Regions from separate parts of the Homo sapiens genome. Here all the other regions are linked to region 1. The links are contacts of gene promoters, found by promoter capture Hi-C in human tissues and cell types (Jung and others, 2019). All regions are on one chromosome and are shown on one strand. Each heading gives the region's core, a stretch centred on a gene start or on the middle of the fragment in contact. The rest is flanking DNA. Distances are from core to core; before and after follow the strand shown. Region 1 holds the start of TPBGL (trophoblast glycoprotein like). Region 2 holds the start of NEU3 (neuraminidase 3). Region 3 overlaps NEU3 (neuraminidase 3). Region 4 has its middle 8.6 kb from the start of RPS3.

Region 1 (4,033 bases), core at 544-3,043:
GAGGGCTCCGAGCTGGCGAGGGAGGTCAGTGCAGTCTCGGGTGTCGGAGCTCCAAGCACAGGGTGCTGGGGGCAAGTCTCAGAGCTTTGGCCTTGAAGGACAGATTCTCTGTGTGAGCTCCGAGACGGGGAACGGACTTTCAGTGGTTCAGGAGGGAGGTTTCGGAAACTAGGGTGGGCAGGCGGGGTTTCTGGATTCGGACCGGCTATCTCTGGGTCTTTGACGGTGGGAGCTCTCGGAGGCGGGAACGAGAGGGTACGGCTTAGCGCCTCCGAGTCAGGGGAAGGTCTCAGAGCTCGGGGCTCGCGGGTGTCTCATCTCCACGGCTTCGGGCCAGGCAAGGGAAGCCCCGAGCCCGGGGGCGCCGCTCAGAGCCCCGAGCCCGGGGAGGTGGCGCGGGAGCCCGCGGGCGCGGCGGGCGCGGGCGCGCGGCGCGGGTCGGCGTCCTGCTCGTAGCGGTAGTGGTAGCCCTCCATCTGGTCCCGGCACGCCTCGCGCAGGTTGCGCATCCAGCGCTGGATGCCGCGGCGGTTTAGGTAGAGCACCATGAGGAAGATGAGGCCGATGAGTGCCAGCACCAGCCCGAAGAACACGTAGGAGGCTTCCAGCTCCGGGCCGGCGGCCTCCGCCTCCTCTCCGCGAGCGTCGGCGCCGCTGTCCGCGCAGCGAAGCCGCGCCCCGTCCAGGTCCAGTAGCGGCCGGTCTAGCAGCGCCCGCGGGGCGGCGCAGCGCAGGCGCCGCGAGTCGGGCACGCGCTCCGTGGCGTTGCGCAGCCAGGCCAGCAGGGGGCGTGCGGCACAGCCGCAGCGCAGGGGGTTGTCGGCGAGCAGCAGGCGCGGCCCGGGGAGGCCGCCATCGCGCTCCAGCGCGCGCAGCTCGTCGGGGTCCAGGCCGGCCAGCGCGTTGAGGCGCACGTCCAGCTGCTCCAGGCGCGCCAGGCGCAGGGCGGCTGGCGGCAGACGGCTCAGCGCGTTGCCCGCTAGGCCCAGCAGGCGAAGCTCGGCCAGCGGTGCCAGCGCAGCGTCCAGCGCGGCCAGCAGCGCGGGGCCGCCGCGCACCAGCGCGTGGTTGAGCTGCAGCGAGCGCAGCGCGGGCAGCCCGCGGAAGGCGCCGCCGCCCAGGGCGCGCAGCGGGTTGTGGCTGAGGTCGAGCGCCGCCAGGCTGGGCAGCCCGTCGAAGGCGCCGTCCTCCACCACCTCGATGTGGTTGTGCGTGAGGCGCAGCGCGCTCAGGAGCGGCAGGCGCACGCCCGCCGCCTGGTCGCCGTCCCCGTCCCCGCCGGCGAAGGCGGCCGCGCGCAGCACCGTCAGGTTGGCGCCTACGATGGTGAGGTTGCGCGCGTCGGGCGGCACGTCCCGCGGAGGCTGGCGGAGCTCGGCTCCCGACGCGCAGCGCAGCAGCAGCTTGGGGCCGCCGAAGCAGTAGCACTGGAAGGGGCAGGGTGCCGCGGGCTGGCTCAGCGCCGCCGCCACGAGCAGCAGCCCCTGGAGCCCCGGCTGTCCCGCGCGCGGGGCCATCGCGGCCGCCCCCGCATCCAGCGCCCGGGCCGCCGCGCTCACCAGTGAGTTGGGAGCGCCTGGTGGGGGGCACGGGTGGGGCGAGTCCTTGACCCGGAGCGGCTGGCAGTCCCGGTCGGTCCGTTCGCTGTCTCGAAAGTCTGAGGAGCCGCACTTACTGGCTGACTGGCCGGGGGCAAGAGGGGTCAGACGGGGAGCGGAGCCCCCCGCCCCCGGTGCCCTCGCCCTGCGCGCCGGCCTCCGGCTTCCGCGGCCGCTCCGGGCTCCGAGCCGAGTGGGCAGGGTTTGCCTCCCCCCTCCCCGCCTCCCGGTCTCGTCCTCCGCCCCCAGCGGAGTCTCCGCGCCCTCCTCGCCGTGGGAGGCGGGGTGGGAGGCTCCCGAGAATCAGGGCTGTCGGCTGCTGCGCTTTCTCTTCATCCTCTCCGCCCCCGCCCCTCCGGGCTGCCGAGAAGTTTGGCTCCTGGAGGCTCCGACTTGGTTTTCCTCCTCCTCCACCCCCAACATTTAAGCTGGGTCCTTCCTCCTCCTTCTCCAGCACGTGTGGGGCGGGGCCCGACTGCGGAGAGCAGGCAGGTGGGTCACCACCAGGGAGAATTCGGGGGTTGGGGAGGACTTTAGAGCTGCTCCTACTACCGGAGGAAGGGATGAGGGGTGGGCTGAGAAAGTTACTCATTTTCCGGCCTCTTCCTAAGGCAGAGAGACTGGAAAATCCCCAGTCTCTGCTTCCTCCTCTGCGACCCTAGTTCCATTAGACCTGGCTGTGTCACCACCCCTGCAGGTCCTATGGGACCAGCTTTTTCTCCATCCCATCCCATCCCATTCTCAGGAGAAGTCTGTGGCACCCGCTCCCCTCCCACCCACCAACTCTGGCTGCTCTGCCTCTGCCAGGAGTTCCCCCGTGTGGTTTCCTCCACCGGGCTGGGCTTCTCTGCCAAGCACTGTCCTAGGCACAGAGACCCGGGGGTGTAGTGATTCTGCTCTTTGCTTTCACTCCCTGCCCCCAAACCTCTTAAGACTCCTGGGGTTCCGTTGGACACTGTCAACTAGTCCCTCCAGGCTTCTCCGCCTGTGAGTGGGGTTTGGGGCACCAGAGGTTGGGAGAGCAGGAGCAGATTTTGCAGCATGGAGTTGGGGGTCTCAGAAGGGGCCAGGGCTGAGGGTGGGGGGGCTGAGCTGTTTACAGATTTGTTTTGTTCTGGATTTTTTTTCCCCCAGAACTGGGAAGCTCTAAACCTGATTTAAAGAGACAGGCTCCTGAGAAGGGAGGATTCCTGGCCTTAGCATGAATTATTCAGGCTGGAGAGGCTGACACTTGATCCGCAGGCCATTCGGGTATCAGCAGAGCTGGTTGGAATAGAGGCTCCCCACCTCCTCCCAAGAATCAGTCTCTTTCTCCTGAATTGGGTACGGTTGTTATGTTGACTCCTTCCCTGAGGTTATATTTAACAGATCGACCAAAGGATCAATACCACTTAAGGAGAAGAGGCAGACCCTGCAGTGGCCTGGGTCTTGGGCAAGGACCAACATTAAGGAACAGAGCTGGTGATGATGGGGGTCTCCCAGCTCTCCCCTCCTCCAAGCCCCTCTCTCTTCCCTACCCCCTGTCTTAACTCTCCCAGGTATGAGAGCTCAGATGTGTCTCATGCAAGTCCATGCAGACTCATTCATATGTGGACATAGGATCGTAGGTTTGAGTGCGTCCTGGCATGTGTCCATAAATTCATAAAGACATACATATTTGAATATGCACACTTCTGAGCCCATGCAGGTTCGTGGATACATTCTCAGAGGGCAAGCTTACAGGCCCATGCTTAAGCCATGCCAAGCATAGGGACCCAGCGATTGGCTAGCACAGTCAGACCCTACTCCTCCTGCCCTGCACCATGCCCTTGGTCTGTGGAGGTAACAGGCTGGTGATGTCTTTTCTCACATGGGCACACGTGCTCAAGTAGATGCCACTGGGGCTGGGCCCCCAGCTATAGCCCTCCCCTAAACCCCGGCCCACACAGCAACATGCCCCAGCTCTGACATCTCCCCTGGTAGGAGGCACTAGGTCGTTTTCACTTTTCTGTTTCCAGTATAGAGACTATCTCAGGAGAGTGTGTGGTGCAAATGACAGACTGAATGAACAGAAGTCTCTGTTTCCTTGTCTGCTTCCAGGCCCTGAGGAATCAGACCACTACCAAGGCTGGAACTCCTTCCCCAGGCCCCGGTGGTGGCTGGCCTCAGATTGGCTGATGCCCCCCTCCCCTGCTGCCCCCCAGGAAAGGAGCTGCAGGACCACAGGCAGCCTTGATTGGGGGGGTGCTCAACACCTCATTTGGGGAAATGAGGCCTGGAGAGAATTTAGAATCATCAGGTGCCAGAGAATAAGGCAAATGTCGTCTGTTTTGCACAAATGGGGAAATAGGCCAGAGGGGCCCCAAGGCCCCTGTCAAGTTTTCAGAGTTTAGCCTAGAAACCTGACCCCAGGGTCCTTGCCCAGGACTCTGTCCAAGATGGTGGGCTGCATCTGA
Region 2 (4,033 bases), core at 466-2,965, 250 kb after region 1:
TGGCTCATGCCTATATTCCCACCACTCTGGGAGGCTGAGGTGGGCAGATCACTTGAGGTCAGGAGTTCGAGACCACCCTGGCCAACATGGTGACACCCCATCTCTACTAAAAATACAAAAAAAATTGGCCAGGCATGGTGGCATCCACCTGTAATCCCAGCTATTCGGGAGGCTGAGGCAGGAGAATCACTTGAAACCAGGAGACGGAGGTTGCAGTGAGCCGAGACTGCACCACTGCACTCCAGCTTGGGTGACACAGCAAGACTCCATCTCAAAAAAAAAAGGAAATGGAGAGGAAATAGGGAAATAATCACCAAAGGAGAAGCACAACTTGTCACATGGGCTGGATTCAAGTCTCAGCTCCATTTCTTGCTGCATGACGTTTTGATGGTTACTCAACCTCTAGGTCTTGGATTCCTTGCTTGTAAACTATGGATAATAATACCTACCTAAGCAGATCAATATGAAGAACCACTCAAAAGTGTTTTATAAATTTTAAACTGCTGTTTTAATAGGTGTCTTTAATTATAAATTTTGATGTCCTCACAATTTCATTTATGCTTTATTATCACTATAACAATTAGAGCCATTAATTTTTGTAATTATGCTGATCGTGTTGATGACAGAAGTAATATAGATGGTGATTCTGGCATTGCCACCCAAAACGTTTCACACAAATCAGGTGCTGGAAACGGGATAGAAAATAATCAGATATGGGCCTGCTCTGGGGTTCATTTAAGCAGAGAATTCAAATGATTACTTGCTGCTCGATATAATCACTTTCCCATCAAGTCCTTCCCGCTTTCTTACTGGGAGAGAGTATAGCCTAGCATGGACTCTGAAGTCTGACTTATCTTTGACACTTACTAGCAAGTCACTTTACTTCTGAGCTTCAGTTTCCTCACTTATAAAATGGAGATAATACCGCCTACTTCTCAGACTATAATAATGTAATTCCACAGCCTCCAACTAACCCAATGAGCCTCCAGTGAATCCCAGGAGGCCTTCCTATCTCATTTATTCACTCCTAACAAGTAATATTTAAGGAGCACCTACCACGTGCCAGACCTTTGAAGATCTGTAGTCTAAACCCTCTCATGGTATAGATGGGAAAACTCGGGCCCGGGATGGGGACAAAGCTTACTGAACGCCACTCCACAGTAAAATCTGGACCAAGACCCAGGTCTCCTAAGTTGAAACTGAAGCTCAGGGCTCTTTCTGCCGCCCAGAGACCTTTGGTAAGCAGGGCTTTTCCAGTCTCAGTTCCCTTTCATCTCTGGAGTGATAATTCTGAGGTTTAAGTTCGGCTTCTGTGAGAACGAATAAAAATAGGACTAGCCAAGAATTCTCTGGCCAGGTCAGATCCTAGCCGACTAGGTGGCTCTGTCTCAATAATCCAAGGCTGGATTTCCCAAACGCAGATGGTCTTGCTCAACCTGTCCCCACAGTTGAGTCCTCCTCGGGGAGCTCTCCTGTCTCCCAACCCCGCTCACCTGCACTGGACCCCGGCTCCTCCGTCTCTGTCGGGGCAGAGCTGGACGCCGGGGATTCTTCCATGGGGCGCGGGGGCAGGTCCGCAGGTCTCATTCGCCGAAGCCCGGAAGAGGCACCGGCCCCAAGGCTGGGGAGACTGAGACAGAGGAGGATAGAGAGGGAGAAACAACTGAGACGGAGGACACGGAGACAAGCCCCGAGAAGCGAAGAGCGTGTCGACTGCCGGAAACAGGTAACGGCAACGAAAAGAGGCGGGCGCAGGCTGTAGTCAGTGGCGGTTGGGGCCAACCGTTGGCCTACTCCGCGAGCCCTCCCCGTCCCGCCCCCTCGGCGCTGCCCCTCCCTCCAGCCCGCAGCTCGGTCCCCACCACGGCGTGGGACCGGCACCACCTCCACCCTCGCCAACTCAGCTCAAGCCCTGGGCCCACCTCAGTTCCCAACGGCCGCCTCCTCTCTTCAGTGCCACAGCCCCGAGCTCTTATATTGGTCTGTAGCTCGGTATCACCGCCTAAAGCTTCCCTGGACAGCCTGAGAGTTGAGCAAAGGTTCCCGGCCTCAGAGGGTACCCTACAAAAAGGACCAGAGGTCCAGAGCATTGGCTACTCTCCTTGCAAAATATGAAAATGAAAATATATTCATATATATAATTTATGTGTGTGTATATACACACATTTACATACATAGATTTGTCACATAGCACTGAGTCCATTCTTCTGTTTCACAGTACCGGAATTTAAGCCCCCCTCTCCCCAGCCAAAGAGGAAAGGACTGATCTAAGGTCATTTTTTATCTGGGACTAAGTACAACGTAAAGGTAATAGGCTGGGCCTGGTGGCTTATGCCTACAATCTCAGCGCTTTGGAAGGCCTACGTGGGAGGATGCCTTGAGCCCAGGAGTTGGAGGCTGTGGTGAGCTGTGATTGCACCACTGCACTCCAGCCTGGGTGACAGAGCGAGACCCTGTCTCTAAAATATAACAATTTTAAAAAGAAGAAATTTTACAAACGCCAATAAAAGGAAAGACAGACTGCTAACTTAGAGGACATAAAAATGTAAAGCTTCTGTAAATTTGAATTCGTGATATTTTTCTCATTAAAAAAAATCCTGTGCTGAGGCAGGGAACATACAAGATGAGCCTGGAACATCGTGGTGCCACAAGGAAAGAACTCACAAAATGATGAGGGTTCTTTGAAAGAACATAGGTGCCAACCTCAATACAACCTGCTGTATTTTTCTAAAAAAAAAAAAAAAAAAAAGAAAAAAAAAAAGGCCTAGAACCAGAGACCAACTCATCGTAATAAGCCCAAATAATGGGTCTTTTTTATTTTTATTTTTATTTTTTGAGATGGAGTGTGTCTCTGCCGCCCAGGCTGGAGTGCAGTGGCGTCATCTTGGCTCACTGCAAGCTCCGCCTCCCGGGTTCACGCCATTCTCCTGCCTCAGCCTCCCGAGTAGCTGGGACTACAGGCGCCCACCACCACGCCCGGCTAATTTTTTGTATTTTTTATAGAGACGGGGTTTCACCATGTTAGCCAGGATGATCTCGATCTCCTGACCTCGTGATCCGCCCGCCTCGGCCTACCAAAGTGCTGGGATTACAGGCGTGAGCCACCGCGCCTGGCAATAATGGGTCTTAAAATACTATTTTGTCCCCAAAGGAACCAGGGTTCCATGAAAAAAATGGCTGATTTTAGGTGCAGGGAAGAAAATTTATAAGATTAGCCTAGAACATCTTAACAGAAAGCAAGAAAGCCATAAAAGACTATTTCAGGTCATGTCAAAAGAAGGTAAGAATCAATTTGAAGGTGATTCCACTGGCCAAATATGGAAAAATTAGAACATCAAAAAGAACAAGGACTGCAAAGAAAGTTCATATCGACATATGGAGAAAAATGTCACTTTGGTCACCTCAGAGTTTGCTAAGGAAAGCAGCTTTTTATTCTGCCTTTCCTGTACAAACCCTATTTCTGGGTAACTAAATAGTTGATGGGGAAAAGTTCTCCTTCATAAAATAATTAACTGACCAATGCCAAATGAATGATAGAATTTCATCATTTTGTCCTTTAATGACAAAATGAATTTAATGAATCTAGACAGCAATTATCAATAGCTACTAAAAGCTACACCCTTATTGCTCACCTTTTCTTCCCTTCCTACTTTCCCACCTCATTATGGCACTCCCTGCATCTCTCACATATACTATTGCCCTCAGGTCCTGGTCTCAGAACTTGCCTCTGGGAGAACTCAAATAAAGACCCTATACCAGGAGATAAGAACAACAAAACAGTAATGAGTTAAGGATCTAACTTAAGAATGTAGAAAAGGAAGAACAGAATAAATCCCAAAAAGGTAGAAAAGGAAATGATGAAAATAAGAACAGAATAAATGAAACAAGAAGCAAAGTACAATAGAGGGGACTGACAAAAGCAAATATTAGTCTTGACATATCTAATAAACCGGACAAACCCTCTGGCAAGACTCATTTTTAAAAGTTATAAATGATATTAATGAAAAGGAGACTATATGCAGGGATACAACAG
Region 3 (4,033 bases), core at 1,112-3,611, 230 kb after region 1:
AGTTCGAGACAAGCCTGGCCAACATGGTGAAACCCCGTCTCTACTAAAAATACAAAAAATTAGCTGGGCGTAGTGGCAGGCACCTGTAATCCCAGCTACTTGGGAGGCTGAGGCAGGAGAATTGCTTGAACCCAGGAGGCGGAGACTGCAGTGAGCTGAGATTGTGCCACTGTACTCCAGCCTGGGCGACAGAGTGAGATTCTGTCTCAAAAAAAAAAAAAAAGAAGTTGATATTCTCATTCTTTTCATCCTTTAGCCCTGGTTGTACGACTTGGCCATCCTCCCTATTCCTATCCACTTGCAGTACAGTGTTCAGGAAAGCTTTGCTAAACAAGGAGTTTCTACCACTCAGGAGGGGGCTGCCCTTTTAATCCTCTCCCCTTCCCCAATTCCTCCCTGCACCAATCCTGCCCATCCCTAGACCTCCACCACCCTCCACCTGCCAACTTGACAGAGGTTTTCCCTGACAGTGGGCCTCATATAAGGAAGTAGAGGAAAGTGTGCATTATTTCACCCAACAGCTGGAAGGTCCTACATGCCAGGCTAAATGTAAACATCTTTACATTATAATAGGCAATGGAGAACCACAAATGATTTAGAGCCAAGGAATGGCAGTAGAAAGTACCTTGTATTAGGCACTCAAGAAATATTTAGATAAATGTATACATGAGTGAATAATTGTGTATTGGGAAGATTACCTTGGCAAATGTAGGAGAGGCTAAGGGGATTTTTAAAAGCCACTCTAAGCCATGGCTTAAGCAATCTGCTAAAGTAGGTAAAGTTAATCTCCACTTTTATCCTGTAGGACTCTCTCTACCCAACTAGTGCAACTGTAACCCCTAGTCTCCTAGGCTATATTTCATGACTAAGACTTGTTCTCTGTGGTCATTGTACAACACCAAATATATTTAGTTGATACCAGTTTAAGCATTAGACTCCTAAAATAGGGACAAAAAAATAAATCTCTCATGATAGAATTTCTGTTGCAATAACAGGCTATGGGAGAAACAATCTAAGATAGGAACAACCAACGTGGTATCATCTGAGAGACTCAGCATGAACTAAGTTCAGCACGAAAACCATTAGACAAAAAGGCATCTCTACTTCACAAGTAGTGATTTCCATGGGCCTACACAAATAGGCCTGATTCTGAGATCTGGGGGTCTAGAGATCTTCCTAATGGTGAAGATCTTCTCACAGGTAAAGGAGTAGCTGGGCCAGGACAATATCCTGAGAAAAACAAACTTGAGAGAAACCCAGAAGCCTGGACAAGCCTTGGACAGACGACTCCAGGCATATTGAAGATGCAACTAAGAAAATTACATCAGGAGCTACCATCACCCCAACATATAGCCCAACATCTACAAAGTCTCCCACCAGCTACATTTATTTTCTTGAATTTTCTCGCTCTTCTAGCCCCATAAACTGGTGAACTCCTTGAGGGCAAAGACTGTGGGAAATTCTGTCCAGTGTTTTAAAGTCCTAATCCATGTCCTTTTCCCATCAGGAACCACCCTAATAAATGAACTTCAGCCCATCATCAGGGTAATGCCACCAGAAGCAATACGCACTATTATCCAGTACTACTGGCATTGAGATTCTCATTGTTCTCCCTAGAAAATGATGCTTTCTGGATGAGGAAGAGAAGGTAAGCAGAACTACAAGGCTGTAGAAGGTAGGAGACTTCATGATTCTTCTGTTTTGCTCAATTCCTCTAGGATAGAGAGCCTACAGAACTGAGCATTATTAAAAGGGTGTGGATATTTTTGTTATTAAAAATGGAACAAATCATACAGATCTGGTCTTCCTTCCTGCCATGACACCTGCTTGTAACCTCACACTCGGATGAGGGGTAAGTCATGTGAAAAGGTAAGTCCCCTGGTTTCCATTTTGACATCAGAGTCCTTTATGCAGCCAGGACTTACTGATCATGAAGCATGCAGGCACTATGCTTGTCCTAGGGATGAGAAGATGAGAAATCTTAGAACCAATACTCTCATTTTACAGATGGAAACCTGAGGTCCAGAGAGTTCAGGTGACACATCCAAGGTCCAAAAGCAAGCCAGTGGCAGAGCCAGGACCACATCCTTGTCTTCCAACTCCTAGTTCAGTGCTCTTTCCACTGCAGTAGCTAAGGCAAAATTTTCATTTTGCTCTTTGGAGGAGGAAAAGTGAAAAAAGGTAGGGAACAGAATATTAAGTTTTTTGATTATCTGTAGACTTCAGTAGCTTCTGTTAACCTGTCTGTAACTGCCATTTGCATCTATGGAAATTGGGTCCTAAGCCAATTAATTGCTTTTGAATTGGCTTGGGTTCCTACCAGGGCTGGTGCAGTCCCCCTGCAGGTGACTCAGGATCTCCCGGTGTGTAAACAGGCGGAAGGCAATCTGCTCACACTCTTGCTTGGTCCCACATTCAAACAAACACCCAAACAAGCCCTCCTCCTCCAGAGCAGCCAGATCAGAGTAGCCACAGGGCCCACAGTGCAAGATCCAGGGGCGGGACCAGCAGGCAGCCTCCAAGGGGGTCTGGTTGAGATAGATACCTAGGTCAACCCTCTGTTTCCTACTGGTTGGGTGTGAGTACAAGAGCCATGATTCTGACGGTGTTCCAGCTTCCTCCTCCAGCCTCAGTGAACTGCCTGGAGAGCTCTGCTGAATGGTGGGTGCATCTTTGCTGCTAGAGTCCTGGCACCTATGTGGGATCTCCAGGGGCCGGAAACTTACCACACTCCCTTGGCAACCATGTGGGGGCTCACAGAGCTGTCGACTCAGGGCCAGTCTCTGAAAGCCTTCACCATGGTCAGTGCTGAGCGCCTCTGCCCGGCACCTGTTTGGTGTCCGGGCACTGCAATATAGCACAGGGTGGCCAGCCCTCCCAGTCACCTCTGCCACTTCACATTCTACTGTAACCATGGGCCTAATGAGTCTACCATGGTGCCATGTGACCCCTAGGTCATCACTGTAGATCATCAGAGAATGAGGCCTGGTTTTACATGGTAGCTGGAAGCAAAAGAACCAGGAAGGGATGTAGTAGGTATACGCAGGGATGACCAGTCTCCCTGACTGCAGCTGGATGCCATGACCTGGGCCCACAGCAAATGTGGCCCAGTGCTTCAGCTCTGAGCCAATGACCTCCTCAGTCAAGTCCCTCACCTCACTCCATGAACATCCAGCATCCTGACTGTAGATGAAGCAAAGGCGGGCAGCATTCCTGCCTGACACAATCTGTTGACGCTCTGTGACATGGCCCCGCACACAGATGAAGAACAGGAACACACAACCACTCTTCTGCTCCCATACAGGACAGGGGTTCATGGTCCGATGCCCCGGTAGTGTGGCTTCCATCAGTGGCTTCAGGGGCCCCCACTAGACAAGGAGAAGGGAGAAAGTAGGAGTGAGATACTAATAGGAAAACATGAAGCTCATTAAAAGTATTAGTATTTTTCATAAATAAGAAATAAATGATATTGAAATCTATAAAATCACGAAGGCCTAACTACTCACTAAATTCTCGGATATTACAGGATAACTTACAAAGCTGGAAAGAGACAATGCTAAATGTTGTACAAGCTGTCTCCTCTGTCTGGAATGCTATTCCTCATTTCATCTAGACTTCCAAATCATCCTCCATACCCAACTCAAAAGTCACCTCCTTTATAAAGCCTTCCATGAAACTCACTCTCCTCCCCTAATACATTTATTGTATAACATTGTAACTTTTTATGACTGTCTTCCTTTTCTAGACTATGAGCCTTTTCAGGGCTTATACTATTGGTTACTAATATTGATTCTCCAGCCCCTGGTACATAATAGGTGCTAAATATTTTTACAAAGAAAGAAAGAAAGAAAAAAAAAAGAAAGGAAAGGAAAGAAAGAAAAAAGAAAAGGAAGAAAAGAAAAGCAAGGCAAACAAATACAGAAATTTTAAGCAAATAAAAGGAAATTTAAGACAAATTTTTTTCCCTCCTGTACTACACTGGGAAGGCAATTCATAACTTTTGTTGAAAGCTCAAGCATAGATTCAGAGACAC
Region 4 (4,033 bases), core at 597-3,096, 150 kb before region 1:
TGAAACCCCATCTCTACTAAAAATACAAAATTAGCCGAGTGTGGTGGCACACACCTGTAATCTCAGCTACTCGGGAGGCTGAGGCAGGAGAATTGCTTGAACCTGGGAGGCGGAGGTTGCAGTGAGCCGAGATGGCGCCACTGCACTACAGCCTGGGCGACAGAGCAAGACTCCGTCTCAGGAAAAAAAAAAAAAAAAAAAAAACTCAGAGTCTCTTATTCAGACTATACATTTGTATTATCTTATACCATAGGCACTGACCTCATGGGGCTTTTGAGCACATAAAAATGGCTAGTCTGGATGGAAAAATGCTGTAAGCATAAAATACACACCAGATTTGGAAATACAAAAAGGAATATAATGTCTCATTAATATTTTATATTGATTACATGTTGAAACAATAACACTTTATATATAGGGTTAAATAAAATGTTATTACAATTAAGTTCATCTATTTCTTTTTGCTTTTTGCTACTAGAACATTTAGAATTACAGGTATACCTCAGAGACGTTGCAGGTTTGGCTCCAGACACATCCCAACAAAGTGAGTCACATGAATTTGTTTTGTTTCCCAGTGCATATCAAAGTTATATTTACACTATAGTGCATGTAAAAGTTATATTTGCACCATTGCACACTTAACTGTAGTCTATTAAGTGTGCAATAGCATTATGTCTAAAACCAAAATGTACATATCTTAATTAAAAATACTTTATTGATAAAAAATGCCAATGATCATCTGAGCTTTCAGTGAGTCATAATCTTTTTGCTGGTGGAAGATCTTGCCTTGATGTTGATGGCTGCTGACTGATCAGGGTGGTGGTTGTTGAAGGCTGGGGTGACTGGCAATTCCTTTTTCTTTTTCTTTTTTAGAGACAGTTGATAGCAAACTCACAGTTAAGTTTCATAGTCAGGTGAGTTCCTGGGACCCCACCCTGACCTAGAAGATCAGCTTTATAAGGATGGAAGAGGCAGATTAAGGGAAGTTCAGGATTGCTCCTGGAGGCCTGGAGGCCTGGAGCCAGGGAAGTGAGACCACCACAGCCCCTCACCCACATATACGTGTTCTTTCTCTTCTATAAACTGAGGTCCAAATGGTTTAGTAAATGAGGAGAGGTGAACTCAGTGAGTGCAACCACTTAACTTTGTTCAGGTTTTCCTGAATAAACTGGCTGTGTGGCCACTGGATCCGCACAGTGGGCTGGGATGTGGATTTAAATTCCTGCCTTTGAAGCTGGGCGCGGTGGCTCACGCCTGTAATCCCAGATCTCAGGGAGGCAGAGGCAGGAGGATAGCTTGAGCCCAGGAGTTCGAGACCTGCCTGGGCAATATAGCAAGACCCTGTTCTTCACAAAAAGGAAGAAAAAAAAAAAAAAGACACACAAAAAAATAAGCGTAATTTCCTGCCTTTGGGACTATTCAAGGCACTCCCCCTGATCAATTTTATTTATTTATTTATTTATTTTAGAGACAGGGTTTTGCTATGTTGCCCAGGCTGCTCCCAAACTCCTGGCCTCACGCCATCCTCACACCTCACTCAGCCTCCCAAATAGTTGTGATTACAGGTGTGGCCACTGCTCCCAGCTGTATTCAAAACACTTTTCAGATTGAATGATACTTTGGAGAAACTCTAGGTTTTTTCATTTAGCAAAGCATTACCAAGCACCTCTTCAGTGTGGCGTATGTTTGAGCCCGACAGCCTGGTCTCGCATTCCTGGTCTGGGTTTCTATAGTTACCAGCTAGGCGACCTCAGGTGTGTTATCTGTGCATCAGTTACTTCATCTGTAAAATGTGATGAAAATAATAGTAAACCCACACCCTGGAATAGTTGTAAGAGTAAATGAATTAATACAGGCAAAGTGCTTAGCACATAGTAAAGCATCCGGGATGCAGTGTATTCAATTGGCATTAGTTATTCTTGCTTGGAACCAGTGCCGATGCCAGATCCTAGTGTCACTGAAGAATCTGACTCCGCTGCTGCCTTCCAGGAGCTCAGAGCTGGGAGTGGGGATACAGATAAATGAGTGTGATAGGCATCATAAGGGGCATTACAGTGAGAAGGCGTTGGGGAAGGCAGGGTGTTGGAAAAGATGTCACAGAGTTTCAGTTCTTCAGTGGAGGCTTACAAGAGGCTCAGTTGTTTACCAGAGTAGTGGATGCACCAGGCAGCGTAAATGGGTTGAACACTTTGGGAGCAAGAGAACACCCCTGAATTATGAAAATAGTTTCCTGATTTAAACAATAAAATGCTTTCATTTAAAAATATTGAAAAGAACAAAGAAGGAAATAAAAATGACCCAGGAAAGCCTGGAGATGGTGGCTCACGCCTGTAATCCCAGCACTTTGGGAGGCCAAGGCAGGCAGATCACTTGAGGTCAAGAGTTTGAGACCAGCCTGGCCAACATGGTGAAACCTCGTCTCTAACAAAAATTAGTTGGAAGTGGTGGTGCGTGCCTGTAATCCCAGCTATTCAGGAGGCTGAGGCAGGAGAATCACTCGAACCCAGGAGGTGGAGGTTGCAGCGAGCTGAGATCGCGCCACTGCATTCCAGTCTGGGCGACAGAGCGAGACTCCTTTTGGAAAAAAGAAAAAAGACCCAGGAAAATAAAAATGACACTGTTCTGGTAAGGCAGTGTAAACTACGGGGGCACAAGTTTCCAGATCTCTCCCTAGGTGTCGATACCCACTGTGAGGAGTCAATGTGCACCTGCAATATCACACAAATGGGGGCACCACAATACACCCGGCGGCGAGGGACGCTGGCGCCATGCCTGGAGGGTGGAAAGGGAGTGGGCAGCTCAGGTGGAGGCAGACAGAGGGCAAACTGGAAGCCAGCTCAGTCTATTTCCTATCCCAGTACTGCCACTTACAAGCTTTGTGATCTCAGGCAAGTCACTTAACCTTTCTGAGTCTAAGAGTCTTCATCCATAACATGGAGGAATTATCATTAATTTCATAGAATTTCTATGATTGAATTAAATGGTATCTGTAAAGCATTTAGCTTAGTGCTTAGCACATGGAAAATCCTTGTTAGATGGAATGGGTTAGCATTGCTTTTTTTTTTTTTTTTTTTTTTTTGAGACGGAGTCTCGCTCTGTTGCCCAGGCTGGAGTGCAGTGGCGCGATCTCGGCTCACTGCAAGCTCCGCCTCCCGGGTTCACGCCATTCTCCTGCCTCAGCCTCCCGAGTAGCTAGGACTATAGGCGCCCGCCTCCACGCCCGGCTAAATTTTTTTTGTATTTTTAGTAGAGACGGGGTTTCACCGTGTTAGCCAGGATGGTCTCGATTTCCTGACCTCATGATCCACCCGCCTCGGCCTCCCAAAGTGCTGGGATTATAGGCGTGAGCCACCGCGCCCGGCCGTCATTGCTTTTAATGCAGACAAACAATTTGGCATTTAGGTTTACATTAATCTTCAGTGTTTTTGTTTAGTGAGTCAGTTTCAACAAGTCCTACCCAACACGAACACGTGGCTCATATCTCTGCTCTTAGGGGAAGACCACAAGACACCAGTGCCTTTCATTCTTACACAGAGCAGGCACTATTTCGTTACAGGCAAAAGGACCACACTACCACAACGTAGAGGACAGAGAAAGCTCCTTCAAAGGAAAAATGTGGGAAGAAGTCGGCCACAGATCAGACTGCTGGAACAGAAAGGCCAAGGATGTCCCAGCCCCATCAGGCGTCATGCAGGGGCATGGGACCAGCATCTGTTCTAGAGAGATGGGGCCCAGGAGCAGCTGCAAGGGCCTTCCCAGGGCCAAAAAGGGCCAGGAGCGGGAGGGCAGTTTCAGTGGTCAGCCAGGTAAGAAAGACCAGCTGGACCCTTCTTGAAGCGCTGTTACTGAGCCCAGGTTGAAGACAGGGAACACAGCTGGAATACCCAGAGGCAGTAGGTTTATCTAGTTTAATTTTATTTTCATTTTTTTTTCATCATAAGTTCCGTCTTTGCTATCACTTAATTTTAGGTTTAAAATGCCACCCTTCTTAACTGGCTCTCCCAAAACTGTGCATACTGCGCACTCTGGTGGT

Evidence for each region. Contacts are between HindIII fragments. The study calls those that stand out against the background at their distance.
Region 2: the fragment with the promoter of NEU3 here is called in contact with the fragment with the promoter of TPBGL in region 1 in 1 of the 25 tissues and cell types used here (dorsolateral prefrontal cortex).
Region 3: a fragment that was not itself captured here is called in contact with the fragment with the promoter of TPBGL in region 1 in 2 of the 25 tissues and cell types used here (lymphoblastoid cells and mesenchymal stem cells).
Region 4: a fragment that was not itself captured here is called in contact with the fragment with the promoter of TPBGL in region 1 in 1 of the 25 tissues and cell types used here (mesendoderm cells).

Annotation. Positions count from the first base shown.
Region 1 is chr11:75,238,534-75,242,566 of GRCh38, reverse strand. TPBGL (trophoblast glycoprotein like) reads right to left here and starts at 1,793. Exons shown (of 1, transcript NM_001195528.2): 1 at 1-1,793. The coding sequence starts at 1,517. The coding sequence ends at 369. It overlaps LOC124902717 (a long non-coding RNA gene), which reads left to right and starts at 2,697. Exons shown (of 2, transcript XR_007062783.1): 1 at 2,697-2,921. RefSeq lists silencers at 428-507, 638-887. The HindIII fragment of the contact is 18,187 bases long and covers 1-4,033 here.
Region 2 is chr11:74,986,615-74,990,647 of GRCh38, reverse strand. NEU3 (neuraminidase 3) reads right to left here and starts at 1,715. Exons shown (of 3, transcript NM_006656.6): 1 at 1,494-1,715. The coding sequence starts at 1,587. RefSeq lists enhancers at 1,446-1,635, 1,916-1,965. The HindIII fragment of the contact is 16,586 bases long and covers 1,575-4,033 here.
Region 3 is chr11:75,004,748-75,008,780 of GRCh38, reverse strand. NEU3 (neuraminidase 3) reads right to left here. Exons shown (of 3, transcript NM_006656.6): 3 at 1-3,368. The coding sequence ends at 2,289. Among named protein-coding and RNA genes, the nearest start is that of NEU3, 18 kb to the right of the region's middle. The HindIII fragment of the contact is 5,878 bases long and covers 1-4,033 here.
Region 4 is chr11:75,388,887-75,392,919 of GRCh38, reverse strand. No RefSeq gene overlaps it. Among named protein-coding and RNA genes, the nearest start is that of RPS3, 8.6 kb to the left of the region's middle. The HindIII fragment of the contact is 5,892 bases long and covers 1-4,033 here.